Linked DNA regions of Homo sapiens: regions 1 and 2 are each linked to region 3. Evidence: promoter capture Hi-C in 16 types of primary human blood cells and fetal thymus (Javierre and others, 2016). All regions are on one chromosome and are shown on one strand. Each heading gives the region's core, a stretch centred on a gene start or on the middle of the fragment in contact. The rest is flanking DNA. Distances are from core to core; before and after follow the strand shown.

Region 1 (3,752 bases), core at 655-3,154, 140 kb after region 3:
TTTTGACATAAGATGGTTGACCAAGGTGCTTTTCTTCGGCTTGAGTTCACCATCTCTTCATTCAAACTGCACTTTTAGCCAGAGATGCAATATATCCCCACTACTCAATACTACCTCTGAATGTTACAACGAATTTACAGTCTAGTACTTATTACATGCTGCTATACACAAGCAATGCAAGAAAAAAACTTACTGGGTAGGTGATTCTAATCATCTGCAGTTCTTTTTGTACACTTAATTACAGTTAAAGAAGCAATCTCCTTACTGTGTTTCAGCATGACTATGTATTTTTCTATGTTTTTTTAATTAAAAATTTTTAAAATACTTGTTTCAGCTTCTCTGCTAGATTTCTACATTAACTTGAAAATTTTTTAACCAAGTCGCTCCTAGGTTCTTAAGGATAATTTTCCTCAATCACACTACACATCACACAAGATTTGACTGTAATATTTAAATATTACCCTCCAAGTCTGTACCTCAAATGAATTCTTTAAGGAGATGGACTAATTGACTTGCAAAGACCTACCTCCAGACTTCAAAAGGAATGAACTTGTTACTTGCAGCATTCATTTGTTTTTTCAATGTTTGAAATAGTTCAAACTGCAGCTAACCCTAGTCAAAACTATTTTTGTAAAAGACATTTGATAGAAAGGAACACGTTTTTACATACTTTTGCAAAATAAGTAAATAATAAATAAAATAAAAGCCAACCTTCAAAGAAACTTGAAGCTTTGTAGGTGAGATGCAACAAGCCCTGCTTTTGCATAATGCAATCAAAAATATGTGTTTTTAAGATTAGTTGAATATAAGAAAATGCTTGACAAATATTTTCATGTATTTTACACAAATGTGATTTTTGTAATATGTCTCAACCAGATTTATTTTAAACGCTTCTTATGTAGAGTTTTTATGCCTTTCTCTCCTAGTGAGTGTGCTGACTTTTTAACATGGTATTATCAACTGGGCCAGGAGGTAGTTTCTCATGACGGCTTTTGTCAGTATGGCTTTTAGTACTGAAGCCAAATGAAACTCAAAACCATCTCTCTTCCAGCTGCTTCAGGGAGGTAGTTTCAAAGGCCACATACCTCTCTGAGACTGGCAGATCGCTCACTGTTGTGAATCACCAAAGGAGCTATGGAGAGAATTAAAACTCAACATTACTGTTAACTGTGCGTTAAATAAGCAAATAAACAGTGGCTCATAAAAATAAAAGTCGCATTCCATATCTTTGGATGGGCCTTTTAGAAACCTCATTGGCCAGCTCATAAAATGGAAGCAATTGCTCATGTTGGCCAAACATGGTGCACCGAGTGATTTCCATCTCTGGTAAAGTTACACTTTTATTTCCTGTATGTTGTACAATCAAAACACACTACTACCTCTTAAGTCCCAGTATACCTCATTTTTCATACTGAAAAAAAAAGCTTGTGGCCAATGGAACAGTAAGAACATCATAAAATTTTTATATATATAGTTTATTTTTGTGGGAGATAAATTTTATAGGACTGTTCTTTGCTGTTGTTGGTCGCAGCTACATAAGACTGGACATTTAACTTTTCTACCATTTCTGCAAGTTAGGTATGTTTGCAGGAGAAAAGTATCAAGACGTTTAACTGCAGTTGACTTTCTCCCTGTTCCTTTGAGTGTCTTCTAACTTTATTCTTTGTTCTTTATGTAGAATTGCTGTCTATGATTGTACTTTGAATCGCTTGCTTGTTGAAAATATTTCTCTAGTGTATTATCACTGTCTGTTCTGCACAATAAACATAACAGCCTCTGTGATCCCCATGTGTTTTGATTCCTGCTCTTTGTTACAGTTCCATTAAATGAGTAATAAAGTTTGGTCAAAACAGATCAAGGAGGGAGACACTCACAAGTCATTTTGTTGCACCCCTTGCACACATCTTGGCACACATGTACATAAAGTGTGTTTTACATATCATACTCCTTCAATCAACTGCCCTGAGCTCGCCTTTCAGATTTTGACATTTAATTCTACAGAGACAATCTTAGAAGAAACATGAAGAACAAGCTGTAGCTCCAAACTACAGAATTTTTACTTCAGGCTAGCACCTACAAAGTTTGTAAGGGAAGTAACTAATGCACTAGTCGTCTTTGAAGTAACATTGGAAAGAGATCCGGAAGATTGATGAATAAGAAATGAAAGCCACGAAGAGTCTCCTAGATAGGAGCCTTTTAACTCTAAAAACTACTAGCAGAGTCAGAATGATTCTACCAAGTTCAAGGTCAACTTGACACTTAAGTTGCTAATTATGAATAAATCTAGGATTTTTAAAAAGCTAAAACTTTCGGTTTTTACTATCACCGTTGTTACTCAAATTTTCTTCATTTAGCTTCTTAGAAGGAGAAATTTGTTTCTAGGAAAAGCTTGCCAATTTTAAGACATCTACTGTCAGGAAATTTGTTAAACGTATTATTTCATTCCTAAATTCATTCACTTATTCTCACAGCCAATATTCTGTGAGTACCTTACTGAGTTGTCCTGAAAAGTGGTTGCATCCTGAAGCCCCTGCCAATACCAAGGACAAATCACAGGCCCTCTCACAAAAAGCCTTTATGGTCACCATCAGAGAGGGAGAATGAGTTTCAACCAATGTAGCATTTCACATGGGAGCGTGGGGAGGGTATGTATCTTTTAATGGGCTGAGGATGCTCAACTCTCTGGTGAATTCAGGAATAGTAAATGGTTTAGGAGTCTAGGCAGAAATAAAAATAGAATTTAGGAATGAATACCATCCAGCTAGGAGGCATATGAGGCAAACTCCAACTGTAACAAAACTTCAGAGAAGTGAAACATAAGAAGCCCAAGACCAGCACAGTGGCGCACTCCTATAGTTTCAGCTACTCAGGAGGCTAAAGCAGGAGGGTCACTTGAGTCCAGGAGTTGGAGGCTGCAGTACACTGTGATCACACCTCTGAATAGCCACTGCACTTCAGTCTGAGCAACACAGCAAAACTCTGTTTCTCAAATTAAAAATAAAAAGCCCAAGGGCAGAGAGAAGACGGCAGATTTGATGCTCTTCTTTTCAAGTTAGTTTTATTTCTGTGAAATGACTTTTTATTGAGCAAGACTAATTTCTAGAGTTAGGTAAGGTCATTCTTGAGCAAGTACTCTTCAGATCTAGGAATTCTGGCCTAAAAGTGGACGAAAAGTTGAAAAGAATCAAAATTTTTTTGAAATACATAATTCAGATAGACAACAACCGGAGGGGGGAGTCAAAAGGCAACAACAGGGGTCTACACCCCTGGTCTGAGTTCAGCCGTCTGTAAAACTTGGCAATTTTTCTTCTGAAGTAGGAGGGAAATGGCTGCAGATATGACCCTCTCTCCTCCATCCTCAGCCTCTGTATTTGGGACTCCACCCAAGCTAAGCCAGTCATGCCTTGGTTCCACTCTCATACCAAGACCCAGTTGCGGCCCATGGGAAAATGCCTCATGTCAGTGAGCAATACTCCACTTTGTACCTAGTTTGCGATAGTTAGGTTCTTGTTTTTGCCTTTGAGCCTAACTCAACACCTTGATGATCTGCCTCCACCCCATGAGTAAGCCCATCTCAGCCTTCCCAGGGCCCTAAATTCTTCCCCTGTACTGCCACCCACCCTAAGGTTGACCCCTTGTGACCTGTTAGTCCCATCTCCCTTTCTTCTATTCAATTACCTATTTTCTCACTCTTGGAAATTGCTTGTCCTGTGGCTTCCTTAGTCCTAGTTTAAGCATACATTCTTGAGGAT
Region 2 (3,980 bases), core at 1,277-3,776, 160 kb after region 3:
CTGGAATATTCTGTTTACAGGAGAAAAATGAAACCTGGTCTATTCTAAGATGTATGTGTTTGCTTAAAATCTTAGTTTGATTATATCACATGTAGCATGAGCGACTCCATTTTTGTTTGCTTTGGTCTGCTGGGGCCTAGTGCATGAACTCAGTCCAAAACAATGGCCTCCTGTAATTTTGCTTTAAAAAATCTCCCTTTTTGCGTCAGGTTCTCACTTAGGTGAGAGTGTGACCAAAACTTAGGGTCTTAGTGCCACACTCAGTTACCATCATTTTGGGTTTCCAGTCTCAGCATGTCATTCATAGGTTACAGTGTCCTTACGGTTGAACACTTCTTTCAGCTCTTGTCATTGCAGTGAAGACAGACCATTTGACATTCTAGAGATGGCTGCATGCAAACATTTAAAACCTTCGAGAGAATACAGTATGCCAGGGAGACTGTTATTATGACTTTGGGGAGGATAATACCAAGAATTTGGAGTATGCTCCTTACTAGGGTCCCCACAAACCAAACCACCTAAAATCAAATAGATTAGAGAATGAGCTAGACAAAGAGTCTACTCACTTAACTAAGCAGTCTCTTCGTTAATCCCCTACAAGTGAATCTCTATAATCTACATTTGATGTATTTCTCCATAGGCCACGAGGGCCAGCAGCTGCACAGATACTTTTCTGTTCAGCCACTAAATAATCTAGAGCAATTCTATTATTTAGCATAACTTTCAGAAGAGAATTTAAGTCTGTTGTGTAACCATAGCCTTTATAGTAGAATCTGCTACAGAGCCTGTCATGAGGGATACATTTCTAATCATTGTCTGTTTTATTCCAAGCCATGAAAAAAGAACCTAACAAATGATGCCTCTCTTGAAGAGTGAAGGCCTCCTGGCAATGTTCTCTTTAACCCATGATGTGGGTTAAGAAGAGTGAACCAATGTTCTGTTTTTGAGTGATTATGAGGCAACATATGTACAACTAAAGTTTCTTATCTACATTAGGACTTTTTTTTTCTTTTTTTTTTGAGATACAGTCTTACTCTGTTGCCCAGGCTGGAGTGCACTGGTGCAATCTTGGCTCACTGCAGCCTCTGCCTCCCGGGTTCAAGTGATTCTCCTGCCTCAGCCTCCCAAGTAGCTGGGACTACAGGTGCACCACCACGCCCAGCTAATTTTTGTATTTTTAGTAGAGATGGAGTTTCACCATGTTGGCCAGGATGGTCTTGATCCCCTGACCTTGTGATTTACCCACCTTGGCCCCCAAACTGCTGGGATTACAGGCGTGAGCCATTGCCCCAGCCAGGCCTTCATTTTTTTATCTATCAAAGTATAAGGTTATCCATGTATACGGCTGGTTGCAAAACCCTTCACAAATAAAAGCATAACCCATAAGTGCACACAACAGACCCCCTTTTCATTTCTATTGTTCATAGACACATAAACAAGGAGAAAAAATTCAAAGATAAGAGTCTCATGAGAGTAGAGAAGTCTTGATCCATGATCTCGGGAAAAGCTGCTCACATCAAGGATGCCATCTTCTGGAGAGAAACTTTCCTGGTTAGCTTTACCTTAAGGATTCCAGCGGGTGTACAGTTCCAAGAGTGTGGAGGGACCCTTCTCAGTTGTGACATTATGAACCCAAAGTTCAAGTGTCCAAAGTCTTGTTGTAGTGTAAATGGCAAGGGCAGTCTTTCCCTGATATTTTCAGAAGATCCCGTTTTCAGGTTCTAGTTTGTGAAGGAGTTGACTGTCCTCAGTAAAACATAAAAAGCTTTCTTTAGCTGGTGAAATTACAATGTAGCATAATAACGTACTGTTACAACATCAGTCCTCTTGCATGAGAGAACTTTTCTATAACCAGAAAACATGCATTGAAAATGACAATTGAATGAAATCCCTTTATAAAATGTTTAAATGGACCATCAGGTAACCAAATGTACCTGAAGTTTTGATTGTTTTCCCAGGAATATGGGTTTGACAAACCAAACACTGGTTATACACTATTTATCAATTTATAAGTTACCACACCAATATATTTAATTTTGATTATTTTATCTTTTCCATGATGAGTTATGGAATGCAGGACTTTTAATAACAAAAGCTTTAAGGGCTCAGGAAGGACAAGGCAGCTGTCCTGGTCCTCCAAGTATCCATCCTTAACATTGGACTTATGTTCTCTTGAACACCAGTTGTTTTTCCAATTTAGGTGCATAGCACTGATAACTGATAGGTTACCACAGGTAATTTGACTTAGACCACGGAGCTCATTCAAATTGCATATATAAACAATTTCAGTATTGGCTGATTTAGGATGAAAATCTGGCAAAGTATTTTCTTGGTATTTAATTAATTTTTGTTCTACATGGGTTAGTAGTTTTATAACCCAGTCAGTCTTTTCTGTAACATTCCAGGAATTTTTACCCAGTCCAAATGATATGATTCTAAAGTTATCAGAAACCTGTATTCAGGAGTGCTTTTCAAGGTTCTTTCTATCCTTTCATGAACCTCCTAAAAAACATCAGCATATTCTAGGATTTTGTATGCTTATGAAGTTTTCAGAAACTGCACCAGCATTAACCAATTAACTGGAAATAACTTTAAATAGTCATAGTAAAAAATACAATTGACAAGGAAATTTGGTTCTTTCTGTGGTCTACAATAACAACATAATAACCATAATTATAATTGATAGCATATAGACATATTAGAATTTTAGAAATCCCATGCAATTTTGGGACATATTGATGATATACACTAGAATGTAACCTAAAGATGTATAACCTAAAACCTATAAACATTATTTCTTATTTTGACAATACTTCCTATGTAACTTAACATACCAAATAATCTTGTTTACCTCTTTTTCAGTTGCTTCAGGGGCCCTATGTAGCATCCCAAAGTTAGAGGTCAGAAAAGACAATTTTGCAGCTGAAATTTGATTTTGGGAAGTCTTTCAATATGTTAAAGCTTTAAAACACTTGATATTATGAGATAGAATTGCAGGTCACCACAAGCCATTCATTTAGCCAAAATAATGAGTTTAAAAAAATTTTTAAGGCAAAAACCTTTACATATTGATAGAGGGAAGATTTAGCTTTCCAAATAATCTGTCCCTTGTCTTTCCCTTCTTTTTTCAGTAGTTTATTCAGTAGTTATTCAGTAGTTTATTTGTTTGCCTTATTCAAAAGGCAAACAAAAGTCTTTCATTATCCTTTGATATTACCTGAAAATTTTGTTTGAGAGGGAACCAAACTTCACACTTCCATTAATCTACTATTAATGTCAACCCCAATTTTTAATAACACTTATAGACAAATTTATCAATTTAATCAGTTTGGCCAAAAGGTGAGATTCTCATAAACCTTTATAACCCTTTACAATTTTTGTTAAAGACCAGATCAGTACTCTAAGAAAAACCTGTTATGCTTTTATTTTAATGTTCAATTTACAGAAAAACTGGATAATACCCCCTTTAACTTTAGCCAATATGGTTACAAACAGAACGTTTTACAATTAATTTTACACACCTTCCACAACTTGCTCAAAGCTTTAGCATTTTTTTTTTTTTTTTGAGGCAGAGTTTCACTCTGTTACCCAGGCTGAAGTGCAACGGCACAATTTTGGCTCACTGCAACCTCTGCCTCCCAGGTTCCAGCAATTCTCCCACCTCCCAGCAATTCTCCCACCTCAGCCTCCACAATAGCACGTGTATGCCACCATACCCAGCTAATTTTTTGTATTTTTAGTAGAGATGGGGTTTCACCATGTTGGCCAGACTGGTCTTTGAATTCCTGACCTCAAGTGATCTGCATGCCTTGGCTTCTTAAAGTGTTAGGATTATAGGCATGAGCCACCGCACCTGGCCCAAACCTTTAGCTTTGTCTTATTTAATTTAAAACAATCCTTTAACCCTCTAAACTGGGTAAAAATTTACATTCCTATGCCTTCTTATAATTTTTTTTTACCAAAAGCATATTTCACTTTCC
Region 3 (4,106 bases), core at 1,247-3,746:
TTGCTTAATTCTATGGTGGGTGCAGAAGAAGAAAAGACACAATTGAATATGGACAGAAACTACCTGGAAAGTTTTCAAATTGGAAAGAAGAATTGAGCCTTGAATACATGGGTAAAATATGGTGTGATAAAGAAGAGGCAGTGAATGGTTGAGAAACATAAACTGGGGGAAAAACCCTCAGATGTAAATGTAAAAAAAAAATTCCTTTCCTTAAAAATAAAATCTAACCATTTAACATTATTTTAAAAATATATGAGAATCCTTTTTGAATAGTAAAAGTCTCAATAATTTCAAAGATTACAACAAATTTTAATGTTTCACCTACAGAAAGTATACAGAATTCTGAAAAATTAAATACAGCTTCCAAAGAATGAAAATATATAAAATTGATTTAAGTAGAACTTGATACAATATTTGTTTTATACCCTTGTTATAAATTCAAAAGGGGTCAAATAGTCTAATAGCAAAATGATAGCAGCCTGAAAACAAGTGGCTGTATATTCCCCCACCCCCAATTTTTCTGTGCTTCTCTTATATTCAAAGATTAACGCAAAAACAAAATTTTGGAATCTGCTCTTTGCTGACCTCTGTACACGTTACCAAAAAAAAAAAAATCCTAGGATATAATGAGGTATACAGCACAAAACTGGCTGGCTGAACTCCTCAGTGACTCCCCTGCATTCACCTTCAGAATTTCTCTCTACTCCTGGCAAAAAGTGAGCAAACAACACAAACCCAAAAACCTATTTTGTACGTGTATGTGAAATGTGCACACCACAGTGCAAATATGTGATAGTTTTTAAATGTGCACGATTGGCAGTTAGGAAATGTCACTGTAATCGTTAGGTGAAACTTCAATCCCTTTGATGAAGATACCATCTTTGAGCCAAGCCCTGACAGAAAACCTTTGGTTCCTGTTAGACCCCTCCCTCCCCAGTCAGCTGCTGGGCTCCATCCGGAGGGATGGAGGCTCTCTCTCTCCATTACAGCTAAGCGTTCCCAGACCCAGCAGAAACCCTGGGTTCCTGCAGAGCACTCAACGTGCAGCAAAGTGTCCCAGCTCTGCAAAGGGCAGCTGGAAATGGATTTAAAATGGCAACGCGGACCAATCAGCGCTGCCGCGCCAAAGCAGACATTTACACGCGCCTCCTCCACATGCACAGCGGAACCTGGCGGTGCCTAACTCCTGCTTAGGGCTGCAAAGTAGGCGTTTTTATTCCACGGTGGTCTGTATCTTTGAAAAAAATAAATTCTTCCCCAGGTGAAAGTTTTTATTTTGGAATTAGTCCAAAATAATTTTGGGTGTGATGTGTGAAAATCTGAACCTAATTTTTTCAGAGTTTTGTGTTATTCAAGGATGAAAAGAGGTACATTTAAAAATGTACTCCACCTTTTAAAAACGGACTGTGGCCATTATGGTGTTCACATAACTCAGAACAGCCCAGGCCATAAAATTAGGACTTGGCAGAAAGAGAGTTCTCAGGCAGAAGGTTAAATCGAGGTAAACTGAAGGGAGAGTTGGGCAGTGAGTGCAATTGTGGTGTTAGGAATCTACAAGGTGCCCTTTACCCTGGGAACATCGGATTCCCGGGGAGGGGGATGGGGAGGGAACTTCGGTTGCCTCTAGTCTTTCCTGGAGAAAAAAGTTCAATGAAGAAGCTGGGGCGCTCTGTGTGTGCACATTGTTTGCATGTGTCTGCGAATGTGCATGTCTATCTGCGTGCCTGTGTGTATGTGTGTGTGTGTAAATGCGGGTGTTTACCAGCGCATGAATGCCCCCGTGTCCACGTGTATCTGCGTGCATGTGCTTACACGCGTGTTCGTGTGTATCTGCATGCATGTCTCCGTGTATGTGCGCGCTCGCCCGCCCGCAGGCTCTGTGGTGAGGGCATTCCGAGGCGGAGTACGGCTGTCAGGGGACCTCTCCCACTCCACTGCAGTCCCTTCCCACTCACAGTGAACCGGTGCGCTGCCTGAGGTGCAGCCTAGACGCTTCCTGCAAAGTGTTGGCTCGGCACGGTAGAGGCGCAGGTAAAGGCCAAGCCCCGAAACGTGGCTCCGGGACAGTCACGTTCCCGCGCCTTCCCAGGACAACTGCCCAGGGGTGACCTCGAGAGGCGGGTGGAGCTAGGCCCACGGCGAGCCAGCCCGGGATCCCCGGCCTGTCCCTTTAACCCCGCCGCCGGGCGGGAGCACGTGAGCGGGGCTCCGGGTGGCACCCGGGCGCCGCCGCCGCCGAGGCAGTTGTATTTCGAACGCTGCCTCTGGCTAGCAGCCAGGCGCCTTGGCTCGGCGGTCCGCCTGGCCTCCCTCCTCCTCATACTTTTCTTCCTGCGCAACCCCCTCCCCTTTATCCGCCCACGATTAGAGGTGGGCACTCCCCCCACCACCACCCCCTCCCCAAGCGCAAGCGCGTGCACGCACACACACCACACACACTCACACTCACACACACTCACACACACTCATCCCACTTGAATCTTGGGGCAGGAACTCAGAAAACTTCCAGCCCGGGCAGCGCGCGCTTGGTGCAAGACTCAGGAGCTAGCAGCCCGTCCCCCTCCGACTCTCCGGTGCCGCCGCTGCCTGCTCCCGCCACCCTAGGAGGCGCGGTGCCACCCACTACTCTGTCCTCTGCCTGTGCTCCGTGCCCGACCCTATCCCGGCGGAGTCTCCCCATCCTCCTTTGCTTTCCGACTGCCCAAGGCACTTTCAATCTCAATCTCTTCTCTCTCTCTCTCTCTCTCTCTCTCTCTCTCTCTCTCTCTCTCTCTCTCTCTCTCGCAGGGTGGGGGGAAGAGGAGGAGGAATTCTTTCCCCGCCTAACATTTCAAGGGACACAATTCACTCCAAGTCTCTTCCCTTTCCAAGCCGCTTCCGAAGTGCTCCCGGTGCCCGCAACTCCTGATCCCAACCCGCGAGAGGAGCCTCTGCGACCTCAAAGCCTCTCTTCCTTCTCCCTCGCTTCCCTCCTCCTCTTGCTACCTCCACCTCCACCGCCACCTCCACCTCCGGCACCCACCCACCGCCGCCGCCGCCACCGGCAGCGCCTCCTCCTCTCCTCCTCCTCCTCCCCTCTTCTCTTTTTGGCAGCCGCTGGACGTCCGGTGTTGATGGTGGCAGCGGCGGCAGCCTAAGCAACAGCAGCCCTCGCAGCCCGCCAGCTCGCGCTCGCCCCGCCGGCGTCCCCAGCCCTATCACCTCATCTCCCGAAAGGTGCTGGGCAGCTCCGGGGCGGTCGAGGCGAAGCGGCTGCAGCGGCGGTAGCGGCGGCGGGAGGCAGGATGAGCGCACGCGGTGAGGGCGCGGGGCAGCCGTCCACTTCAGCCCAGGGACAACCTGCCGCCCCAGCGCCTCAGAAGAGAGGACGCGGCCGCCCCAGGAAGCAGCAGCAAGTCAGTACGAGGGCGCGGTGGGGGCACCAGCCCACCCCGTCCCCACTGCCGGGGCCCAGACACGCGCGGGGCGGCCGGAGTGCGGGAGCCCAGTCGCCGCGGCCGTCGCACACTGCCCGCCGGCCGGCCGGGGGGAGCGGCGCAGACCCCACGAGTGCGCCGCGCGGCCCCGGGGCGCCAGCAACCCTCCGGGCGGGGAGGTGGGGAGCCGCGGCGGGCGGCCCGGGGAAGGCGGGAGGTGGGGTCGGGCGAAGCGCGTCCTCGGACTTTCGCTATTGTGCACGGCCCCGAGTGGCGCGGTGTCGCCCAGTGACTGGAAGCGACCGGGATCCGACAAACCCGGGCTCGCAGGCGCTTTCCGAGTTGCTTTTGCAACTGCCCGGGAGGAAGGAGGTGCCGGGGACCCGGGCGCTTCGGCCGATCTGGGCTGAAGGGGCTAGAGTCTTGGGGGCCGGAGGCTCTTTCTCCCGCCTCCCGGGGCTGCTCGCGGGTCGGGGGCTGGCGCGCCGCAGCCGCCCCCTTGGCGCCCTCCTCCAAGCTCTCGGTGGCCCAAGACTCGCGCCCTCCCGACAAAGAACGCATGGAGACCCGGCTGCCTGGTCCTTTTTGGGCTCTTTAAATATGCGGCGGCCGCCGGAGGGAGCCCGGGGCAGGGGCTACGGGGAGCCTGGTTCCCCGCAGGACGGGGTTAACTCGCCCAGCTAAGGGCGC

The links. Contacts are between HindIII fragments. The CHiCAGO score rates a contact against its expected background, and 5 or more counts as called.
Region 1: a contact is called between a fragment that was not itself captured here and the fragment with the promoter of HMGA2 in region 3, in 1 of 17 cell types (endothelial precursors). The highest score is 5.1, in endothelial precursors.
Region 2: a fragment that was not itself captured here is called in contact with the fragment with the promoter of HMGA2 in region 3 in 1 of 17 cell types (endothelial precursors); the score reaches 5.6 in endothelial precursors.

What each region holds. Positions count from the first base shown.
Region 1 is chr12:65,964,438-65,968,189 of GRCh38, forward strand. HMGA2 (high mobility group AT-hook 2) reads left to right here. Exons shown (of 5, transcript NM_003483.6): 5 at 1-1,854. Among named protein-coding and RNA genes, the nearest start is that of HMGA2-AS2, 18 kb to the left of the region's middle. The HindIII fragment of the contact is 964 bases long and covers 1,423-2,386 here.
Region 2 is chr12:65,984,724-65,988,703 of GRCh38, forward strand. No RefSeq gene overlaps it. Among named protein-coding and RNA genes, the nearest start is that of MIR6074, 37 kb to the right of the region's middle. The HindIII fragment of the contact is 866 bases long and covers 2,094-2,959 here.
Region 3 is chr12:65,821,987-65,826,092 of GRCh38, forward strand. HMGA2 (high mobility group AT-hook 2) reads left to right here and starts at 2,497. Exons shown (of 5, transcript NM_003483.6): 1 at 2,497-3,395. The coding sequence starts at 3,285. It also overlaps the pseudogene RPSAP52. RefSeq lists an enhancer at 3,617-4,106. The HindIII fragment of the contact is 7,944 bases long and covers 1-4,106 here.